Regions from separate parts of the Homo sapiens genome. Here region 2 is linked to region 1. The links are contacts of gene promoters, found by promoter capture Hi-C in blood cells and fetal thymus (Javierre and others, 2016). All regions are on one chromosome and are shown on one strand. Each heading gives the region's core, a stretch centred on a gene start or on the middle of the fragment in contact. The rest is flanking DNA. Distances are from core to core; before and after follow the strand shown.

Region 1 (5,193 bases), core at 1,072-3,571:
CCCCAGGGTAGGTGTGAAAGACACGTGTCCCCATTGTGAAGGGCCTGTCAGGCAGGACAAAGCGGCCGCCCACCCTCCCCCCGCCCCTCGGCCCAGCCTGGGGTCAGCTCCAGGGGGCCGGCTGGGTGTCGAGGTCACTACAGGCCCGAGCTTTGGTGACATAGGGGGAAAAGCTAGGAGACTAGGCGGAGGCCACGTGATGTTTTAGTGAGGGGTTAGAGAATATCGCCCCCCCCCCCAACGCCCTCAAAAAACTAAGTCACCTCCATCATACCACAGGAGGGGAGTCCGAGGGGATGAGCCCCTTCCCCAACGGGGTAGGAGGCACAGCAGCATCCCCTACCCGCCCCCTCCCACGCCCTCCCACCCCCATCAATCACCAACACAGAAAATCAGTGTGGAGCGCAGTCGGTTTTAGTGGTTTTCTTTAATCCTGCTCTGCACTTCTTTCTCATTTACTACACGGGATATTATAAAGAATAAATAGCAGATACTCTTAATTTACAATGATTAGTCATTCCATTTGTTCTCTATATTTACAATAACTGTAAAATAACATTGAACTCTATAGCTTCTTCGAGGTCCAAGGAAAACCAAAACACTTTCCGAAGAATGGAAAATAGCTTTTAAAAAGTCCTCTACAAAAGTTCCCCCGTCTCTTTGTACTTCAAGAAAAAAATAACTTTTCCCCCCTGCTTCGCCATGCGAAGGGCACTGGAATATAAATAGCAGGTTAACATTATTAGCAACAACCAGAATAAGTCTCTCTTTTCTCTGTTCTTTTTTTTTTCTTTTGCTTACTTTTTTTTAAAAATACAGTAGAAGCCGGTAACTTTTAACGTATAATACTGACCTTTTAATAAGTAAATTAAAACTGGGACCGTATATACACACACATATACATTCCTACACAGTTAAACAGTGCATTACAGGAACCAGAAAGCTAGGTCTCTGTAGCCCAGAAAAAAAAAAAAAAAAAAAAAAAAAAGTTCATTGAAAACCCTCGCTAGAGGGTGGTGGAACTGGTTGGAGGCGGTGCAGGGGGCGTCGGTGGGGATCGATCAAGTGTCCGGGTGCGGGCAGGGGGCCCCCGAGTTCTAGCACGAGCACTTGCACTCGGAAATGATGGGGTACTGGATGGGAATCCAGCCGCAGCGCTGGCCCCCGCGCCGCTGACAGCGCCACCGCAGCACCGTGAGGTGCACGGACTTGGACGGCTTGCACACCATGCCCTCGGGCACGGAGCACGAGCGCTTACTGAAGCAGCTGCCCACCTTCACGTAGCGCGGCCAAAAGCGGCTGCCCAGGTCGTTCCACGCGTACAGCACGGGGCAGAATGTCTGCGACCACAGCCACATCTGTAACTTCCTCCGCAGCTTCTTGCTTAGGCGCTGCTTCTTGCCCTGGGCCAAGCCCTCGGAGAACTCTAGCCCTTTGATCTCGCTCGGCATGGCCCCCGACGGCCGCTGCCGCAGCAGCTGGTCCAGCTCCGCCAGGTCCTCCGCGCCCCCAGCTGCACCCCCGCCCCCGCCGGGCCGGTCCTCGGGGGGCGAGGTGGCCATGAAGCCTGGGTCGTAGTGGCCCCCGAGCAGCGAGCGCAGCAGCGTCTCGTTCAGATCCTTTTCCTTGGGGTCAAAGATAGGGTCTGGGTGTTCGATGAGGTCCACCAGGGGCAGGTTGTCGCTGGGTGCCGGGCGGATGTGGAGATAGTGCTGGCCGCCGGCCGGTGTCGCCCGCAGCCCCAGGACCACCACCAGGGCGTAGAGGGTGACCCCTAGGCTGGGGCAGCGCTCCATGCCTCTGGCGCGCGCCCGGGGCTGCTGCTTCGTCCCGCGTCCCCGGAGGAGAGCACGCCGAGCCCGCGGCGCCGCCGCGCTCCCCCGTCTCTCCGGAGGCGGCTCACCCGAGGCTGGGCAGGCGCAGGGCCGGCAGCATGAGCCGCCGGGAGAGCCCTTCGCGCAGCGCCGGCTCCCACCGGGGCGGAAGAAAGGCACACAAGTTGGCCGCAACTCCTCTCCCGGGTCTACTGGGGAAGGCGGCCGCGGCTGGGCATCCGAAATTACTCCAGGGCGACCGCGGGGCGCGGGAGGCGCCGGCTCCTCGCTGCCTTCCCGGGCCGGCGGCGGCGCAGGGCGCGTGGACGAGCCGCTCTCCCCTCCTCCTCTCGCTGCTCTTCGTCCGGCCGCTCTGTGCAAGCGCCGCTGGCTGAGCTGGTTCTAGGGGCACTTCCCTCCGCCTGCTCCGGGCTCCGCGGCCGGCTCTGCCCGGCGGACTCCAGCGGCGGCGGCGGCGGCGGCGTCCGCGCACGTTGGCACCGGTTTGTCTGTCTCGCAGGGTCCAAGCCTTTAAATTTCCTGCACTTTCAGCTCCATCACCATGGAAACCACTGACTCTCTCGGCGTTGCCCCCTCCCCCTTCTTCCCCCCAAACAACAACCCCACCCCCCACTTCTCCACCCCCGAGGAGCTGGAGCTGCACAGGCTCCGGGGGAAGCCGCCTGTACTCGCCGCGGAGGCGGCGGCGGCGGCTTCGGCAGCGCCCAGGGCTGTGCCCCGCCGGACCCAGATGCCCCGGGAAGCCGACAGTCCGGCTGCCCGCCGGAGCTCACAGGCGGCGGCGGCGGCGGCGGCAGCGGCGGTGGCGGCGGCGGTGGCGCTTGGCAGGTCTCCGCGCAATTTTCTCTCTCCCCCACCACCCACCCCCCTTCTCCTCCTCCTGCAAAATGCACCGCCCCCCTCCTTTCTCCTGGAGCAATGCAACTGGGGCTCTAGGCGCCCCGCCAGGGCCAGTCCTGGGGAAAGCTCGCGGCGGCGCTGGAGCCGGGCTGGAGGGTGCAGAGCCGGTGTTTGGGGAGGGGGGGCGGTGCTTGAGGTGGGGCTGGAGGGTTTCTCACTAGCTGGGTGCTTTGCACTGGGAGGGGAGCAGCGGGGAAGTGCTGGGGGCTCGTTTCTCGGTGCATGCAGTTCGGAGCAAGAAATTTCTCCATGTGCATGGAGCGTTTTCCCCGAGCGCGTCTTCTTCTCTCCCGGGCTCTTGCTCTAAGTCCCCTCCCCCCAACACACATATATACACACACACACACACACACACACACAGCCCCTACCCCACCCCCCTTTGCACCAGGGAGTCCGAGAGCCGCAGCGTTGCGCAGCGTGATGTAATTCTTAGGAAGCACTCCTGTCTGTCTGCCCCTCGGGCCCACGAGGGGGTTCCGCTCCTCACCATCCTCCTCCTCCTTGGCCGGGTCCTGCACCCTGAGTGGCCTAGCCTCAGGGGCGCGACTGGCTCGCCTGCGGCTCCCCTAGCCCGCCCGGCTCCGCGCGGCCGCCGCTCGGCTCCCTGGGGGCGGCGCGCCCTCTGCTGGCCCGCTATGAGCCCTGCACCTGGCGCTGGCGGGGGCGGCCGTGCGAGGTGGGTCGGCCGCTGCCCGCTCTGCCCAGTTCAGCTTCTGCTTCTGTGTCCCTGTCACTTTGTGTGTGTCTGCGTCTGCTGACTGGTCCGTTTTGGTTCTGGCTATTTTCCCGAAGGTCTCCAGGCCCCCAGTGTAAACAAACTTCCTGAGATTCCTTCTCGGTCCCCTCAAATTTCACAAGAATGCGTGCAGCACCTTCTGCCTCAGGTAAATCGGTCTCTGGTCTCAGTGGGTGCGAGTGGGGACCAGAAACTTGAAAGGTGAGCTGACAGCAGAGGCACCTGAGTCTTGCCCGGGGTCCACCCTGATATAACTCGGACAAGTCATTTTTCTCACTTTTCGCATTAGTGACGTAACTATTAATAGATTTCTCTTCCAGCCCTACCTTTCTGTGATTTTAAATAAACCTCCACGATGCTTTCTCTTGTTCAGAAGCAGTTTCTCTTTGATGGGAGATGGGTACTGAAGGGACACCTCCGGTTAATTTCCCCTTGGACGAGGAACTCAATCTCAGCTTTAAAATGCAAACTCAGTTTTCTTTGTGGTGAATGTGATTGGAATCTGGAAAAAGCTGGAGAAGAGAGACTTGGAGTGGATGACTCAAGTATTTGCCAGTCTTCCATGGAGTGGGAGTTAAGAGGTCCCATTGTGACAACCTAAATCGCTTAACTTTCTTTCCCCAAAGATCTGGTTTTTCCTTTCAACCTGCCCCACCCCAACTCCCAAAGTTTATCATCTGTCTAAGGAAGAAAACACTTTGTTGCATACTACAGTCTTTCTGCAAAACCTCTATTAAAAGGGGTGGGCAGTTTCCGCTGAAAGCGTTTCCCTCAATTTTAAAGTCTAGACAACTAGAATTAGACTATCAAGGGACTGCTCAAAAGGAGATCTTGCTTTGATGGATACTGGAGTTAACAACAACCCATTGGTTGTTTGAATTGGGCTGACTTTGAAATAATGTGTGATTAGAACCTGGTACAGGCCGGGCACGGTGGCTCATGCCTGTAATACCAGCACTTTGGGAGGCTGAGGCAGGCGGATCACTTGAGGTCAGGAGTTGGAAACCAGCCTGCCCAACATGCTGAAACCCTGTCTCTACTAAAAATACAAAAAAAAAAAAAAAAAAAAAAAATTAGCTGGGCGTGGTGGCAGGCTCCTGTAATCCCAAGTACTTGGGAGGCCGAGGCACGAGAATCACTTGAACCTGGGAGGCAAAGGTTGCAGTGAGTTGAGATTGCACCACTGTACTCCAGCCTGAATAACAGAGTGAGACTCTGTTCCCACCTCCCCAACTCCTCCCCCTCCAAAAAAAGAACCTAGCACATAGTAGGCTCCTAAGCATACCTCTTTCTTTTTTATGTGCTTTATGGGGATTCAGCACTAGTTTGTTTCCTTATGAAGATTACATGTTCCAGAGCAATTTTGTCACTGATGTGAATTAACTAAGAAAATTATTTAGTGGAGTTCAAGGGCTAAACTCTAGCTCAGCCCTCCTGAGATGGTAGGTTCCAATTAATGACATTATATCATGCTGGTTTCTGTTCTTTTAATCCCCCTCTTCTCTCCTTCAAATCACCTATTTTTGCTTGAAAACCAACCCAGATCCTTTATTTAGTTGGGCTGAGCAGATTTGACTGAACAGCAAAAAAGGTCCCTCAGGAACCAGAAACAAATCATGCTTGAGAACAGATTGGGTGACCTGTTTATGGAGTATCTACTGGGTGAAGACCATCAGGAAAAATACAAAGAAGAAAAAATTCATAGTCAGTCTCCATCCTGCA
Region 2 (5,357 bases), core at 2,275-4,774, 66 kb before region 1:
GGGACCCTCTAAGGATGAAATGAAATAGGGGATAAGCTAAGTCATGTTGTAGTGTGTGGAACTCAGTAACCACCAACCTCAGCATCTCCCTGTTTCCAACATCCCTCTCTGCCCCTGCCTCTTCCGTATCCTCAGCTTCACACACCCCACATGCCATGCCTTATCCTGCCAGACAGGTGGAATGCAGCAGCCCCTGCGATTGACCCTGCCTGGGGAAATGCCCTTCAATAGGACCCTCTGAAGCCTAAGAGGCCTTCTCAGCCCTAAAGACACTAATCACATAGATGAGGAGGAGGGCTTCCTGCACCCTCAGATCCTACCTCTGGTTCACAATGACTTCCACAGATAGGCCGGTATATGTCAACTGTGGGAGGATTTTGCTCCCTCCCACCCACCTGGAGACATTTGGAAATATTTTTGGTTGTCACAAATGGAGGAGTGCTACTTGCATCTAGTGAGTAGAGGCCAGGGATGCAGCTAAACATCACACAATACACAGGATGGCCCCCCTGCAATAAAGAATGATTCGGACCAAAATGTCCATGATGCAGAGGGTGAGAAACCCTGAGATAGACCGTAACAGGGAGCTATCCACAGACACAGGAGCACCACCAGAAGCCAGTACGCAGGGACACATGGTTGGAGGAAACAGGACTGGGCATAAAGATTTGTGTCTATTAGGAAAAGGGCGGGGGGTGCCTGGAAGGAGTGCTGTTGGAAGGAAGATGCTGGAGTTGAGTCTTGAGTGTTCTAGGCGCTCCAGGCACAGAAAGCTTGGGAGAGAAAAGTGGGGAGGGTCCCCACGTCCAGCATGGGCCACAATAACCAGGCCCTGGGTACCATTCCTGTTAATGGCAAAGGTTGGCCCCAAACACCCCAGGCTGCTGGTCAGGACCCGGAAGCTGTGCTCCGTGGACTCTGCTGTCGTGTGGCAGCTTGGGCTGGGCTGAGGGGCTTCCTTGAATGGCATTGCTTTGGCATCAGGGCCTTGTGGACACAGCCGGAATTAATTGACCATTGTTTGGTGTGGGTGTGCCTCTGCGTGTGTGTGTGTGTGTGTGTGTGTGTGTGTTCTTTGTTGTTTTTCTAAATCCACTAGAGGGCATGTCAATGCTAAGATCTGGCAGGTTGGACAAATGACATTTGTGTGAACTGAGGCTCCTGGCCCTGGGTGGTGAGGGGAGTGAAGAAGGGGCAGGTGACAGAAAATGGGGTTATTGATTTTGGCCCCTCCCCACCACAGCCTTCCCCTACCCAGTGATGACAACAAGATGATTTGCGAATTCATAGAGAAAGCCAGCCGTGATTCTCCCCTCAGTGACATACACCATTAGGGAAGTTAAGCTGGGAAGAAGACAGGGATGGCAGAGGCAGGTTCTTGGAATAGAATCTAACCATGGTGTGACTCTGGGAAGGGAATTCCTCCTTCCAGCCCCCTCTCTCACTTCCCCAGGGGCCATGTCGCCATGGTGGCCCGGCCTGGCATGGCCAGGTGGCCTTCACCCCTTTGGGCCAAGCAGAGAGGAGCACGTAGCTGCTGAACCTCCAGAGGTCTCCAAAGGTTCTAAGTGCAGGAGCCAAGAGCGCTTCTGAAAACCCTCATTCTGCACAGCCTGGCCCACCCTCAGCCTTCTCTTGTGCATGTGGCTGCCTGGAGAGCTTGGCAGAAAGGCCCAGAGAGTGGGGTGACTGAGCCGGGGGCGGGCTAGGGTGAAGGTAAATGGAACTGTGTTGTTTTACTGTCCACCTTGATGTCAGGAGGGATAAGGGGGTGTCATCTGGGTGGAGTGAGTGGTGTGGGGTTGGGGAGGTGGGAGGCAGTGAGGAGAGGCTGGGCCAACGGTCATCTGCTTTAGGAGAGGAAATCACAGGCATCCTGGGGTTTGGACAAGAGAAACAAGCACCTCTGAAGGTAGTAGGTTTGGGCTGAGTCAGGAACAAAACTTGCTGTTTTTAATTCGGATACACAGTTGGGAGGGAGCATTTGCCCTTGAGGTCTGTATTCAGATGTAGCAGGCTCTTTTCTCTTGCTTCTACTGACACAGCCCAGAGAGAAGTAAACGTTAGACTATATACTTACATATACAAGATCTGGTTCCAGAGCCCCGCTCAGCCACTGGCTTGCTCTGTGACTGAGGGCAAGTCATTTAACTTCTCTGAACTTGAGTTTTCTCATCTATATATCTGAAGGGTTGCTATGCAGATTAACTGAGATAATGCATGGAAGTACCCATCCCACAGTGTAGTTTAAAAAAAGTCCCAGTAAATATTCATTCCCTCCTATTAACAATCTCCAGTCTATAAAGGGGTCACTTGGTCACCAGGAAATAGGTAAGAGGCCAAACCAGGCTCAAGGATCATAGAAGAACCAGCAGCCAGTAGGGTTGCATTGGTGCCTAACAATAGCACAAGCACTAGTACAGGTGGTGGGGGATGCTTATTGAAAACTCCTTGACAACTCACAAATAATGAAACTGAGTCTCAGAGAGGTTCAGCAATTTCCCCAAGGCCACACAGGCAAGCAGGGATTTTAAGAAGTGTGTGTGTGTGTGTGTGTGTGTGTGTGTGTGTGTCTGTCTGTCTGTCTACGAGTCTCCCAGATCTGCTTAAAATGACAGATGACTGTTGTTCTGGACTATTGCAGAATCCTACTGGAGCCTGAGGCCACTGAAAAAATCACTAATACCAATCCTGTCTATTTGAAATTTTGTATTAAAATTGTGGACTTTTTGCATTAATTTTGATTTTCAAAAATACTGCATTTGATCCTACATATCTATCTTGATAATTGAATTTTTGGCATCCCCAAGGTGAGCTCTTCCCTCGTCTTCCCCTGGTCCTAACGTACCACTGCTATTACGCCTACAATTCTGGGTGGTCTGGCCGGGGGATTGTGACTCTCAAAAAGGCAGTGCACAACAGCTAGAGGTCACTGCTCACTAAAGGAACAAAAAATCCCCCCCTGTCAATATTGAAAGAGGTCTTCCTGGGAGGGGCCAGGGCCTGTGGCTAATGAACACCATGGTGAAACCTACTGGCAGGCAATAAAGGATCATCCTTCTCTGCAATCAGGCAAGTGCCGAGGCAACCTCATAATAAGCCAATATTGCACGTCTGTTAATATAAAATTCTTCAATCTATAAGTCATCAACATTTCTTAACAAAAAAAAGATCAGAACCTATATATTGTTGATGCAAGTATAAGTTGGTATGGCTTCTTTCTTTAGCAATTTGGCAGTTTCTATTGAAACTAAAAATATGCAAATCCTTTGAAGCAGATAGTTCCTTTTCAGGTATCCATCCTAGAGAAATACTGGCTTGTGTACACAAAGGGGCATTCCAAGCATGTTCATTACAGTTTCAAAACACTATATATGTCTACCAATGGGGAAGTCATTACATAAATTATGGTACCTCCATACTGTGGAGAGCTGTGCAGCAATAAAAAGGCATTAAGTTGACCAAACATGTTGAAATACATCAAAAGTCAGAAAAGAAACAAGTCATAAAGTCAAAGAACAACAGGGCAGAATGGTACCTGCTGTTTGGCCCATTTGTGCCTCAGGACCAAAAGTACACTGAAGACTCAAAGCAAAACTATGTACCTTTATATGGATATAAATGCAAAGAACAGCCTGGAACAATAAAGAAAGGTGGCCCAGTGTGGTTATTCTAGGAAAGTGGAAGGAACTTCCCTTCAACTCTTTGGTTTGATCTAAAAAATATATAAATATATTGTAACGAGAAAATAATATTCATATATCTGTTTTTTAAAGGAAGAAATAATTTTAAAGGAAGAAAGTTAATTGTCTTGGAAGTCCTTTCTGGATATGTTAGAGCATATGGGTGGAAGGGGTACACTCCTGTTGCATAAAAATTCAGGCAGTCTGTGATCTGACTCTCCCAGATTGTCCACCGGAAGACTGAGATAGGCCATCTTTTCTCTTTCCCTGTCTCCAGGAGCAATAAGTCTGTTCTCTCAGGAGGAAGAGGATTAGTCTCTTCCAAGATTTGTTAACTGCAAATGACTGATGAGCTGAGCCACCTTTAAGCATCATTACCTTCACCCAGGTTGTTGCTGCTCTAAAGGTTTTTATTTCTCCACCACACTATGTTGACAATCATTATGATGGTTATTTCGGAATTTTAGCAAGAATGTCAGAATAAGATCAGCTCAGTTGTGGTAACAAAGAAAGGCCCAAAACTCAGTGGTTTAACCATATCAAGATTTATATCTATCGTACAACATCCCCATGTGAGTCAAGTGAATCTCTAGAGCACCTCTCTTCCGGGTGGTGACTCAGGGTCTTGGCTGTTCCTGTCTTACAGCTATACCAGGTCATCGTATAACGTGATCACTGCAGCATGGAAAGAGAAAGCTGGAGGACTACATAGGGGCTGATAGCACTAGGTTTGGAAGTTGCATACATCACTTTCTCCCATGTTCCATTGGTCAGAAATGGTCACATGGTTCTAATCCAACTGCAAGGGAACCTGGGAAAGGTAGGAGAGCCCATGGCCATTTAGTGAGAATTTAATGTCTCTGTCACAATAAGAGGAAATGAAAAATATTAATTAGACACTTCATAAATGCCATTTCTGTTAATGTAGCCAACATGGGAGGCCATTCAGTAGTTCATAGGTTCCTTGAGGGCAGTGACTCTTGTTACTTTTTACCTGCATCCGAGTCCTGTTGATGAAAACAATGACATCTTTGCAGAGAGTCTTCATTTAGTGTTAGCCAAATTGAACTACTACTCTTACTCAAAATCTTTTTTACAACTTCTTTTTGGGGAAATTTTCTTCTCAGCCAGTTTACAATTGCACAAGGAAATCAATTGCATTTTTTGTTGTTCTTTACTTTTTAATTTCCTGTACCTCCAAGTTAGATCTTTGAAAAGACTTTAAAGTAAGACAAACTAGCAATATTGGTCAAGATGAAGTGAGCAAAGGTGCAGATAAATAATATGAATGAAGAATGAGATATCATTACACATATAGCAGAGATGATAAAGATAAGAAAACACTCTCACTCACTTTGTCTCAATGTATTTCTTCCAAGTCCCACCTGTTTTGTTTATTTGTTTGTTTTAACCCAAAGGGCCATTACCTAGCTTGAGTGATTATCTCTTTCTCTACCAGATTTGGCTTGTGGTTATTTCTTAAAACAACAACAACAGCAATATTGTTAAAATATGATATGGCTATGTTTAAAATGGATATATTGAAGACTCTGAAGGTAGTCCCCAAAGAAATATGAAGACTTGATTGTTTGATTATTTGTCATTGGAACATGGCCTCCTTAGAGTCCAGGTTTGAAAGATGACTCTGTTCTTGGAGGCTTAAGGACCCATAGG

What was found. The method cuts DNA at HindIII sites, captures the fragments that hold promoters and counts their contacts. A CHiCAGO score of 5 or more calls a contact.
Region 2: a fragment that was not itself captured here is called in contact with the fragment with the promoter of NOG in region 1 in 1 of 17 cell types (naive CD4 T cells); the score reaches 5.2 in naive CD4 T cells.

What each region holds. Positions count from the first base shown.
Region 1 is chr17:56,590,827-56,596,019 of GRCh38, reverse strand. It overlaps NOG (noggin), which reads right to left and starts at 2,321. Exons shown (of 1, transcript NM_005450.6): 1 at 409-2,321. The coding sequence starts at 1,796. The coding sequence ends at 1,098. RefSeq lists silencers at 1-146, 3,259-3,468. The HindIII fragment of the contact is 13,259 bases long and covers 1-5,193 here.
Region 2 is chr17:56,657,814-56,663,170 of GRCh38, reverse strand. No RefSeq gene overlaps it. Among named protein-coding and RNA genes, the nearest start is that of NOG, 67 kb to the right of the region's middle. The HindIII fragment of the contact is 5,498 bases long and covers 776-5,357 here.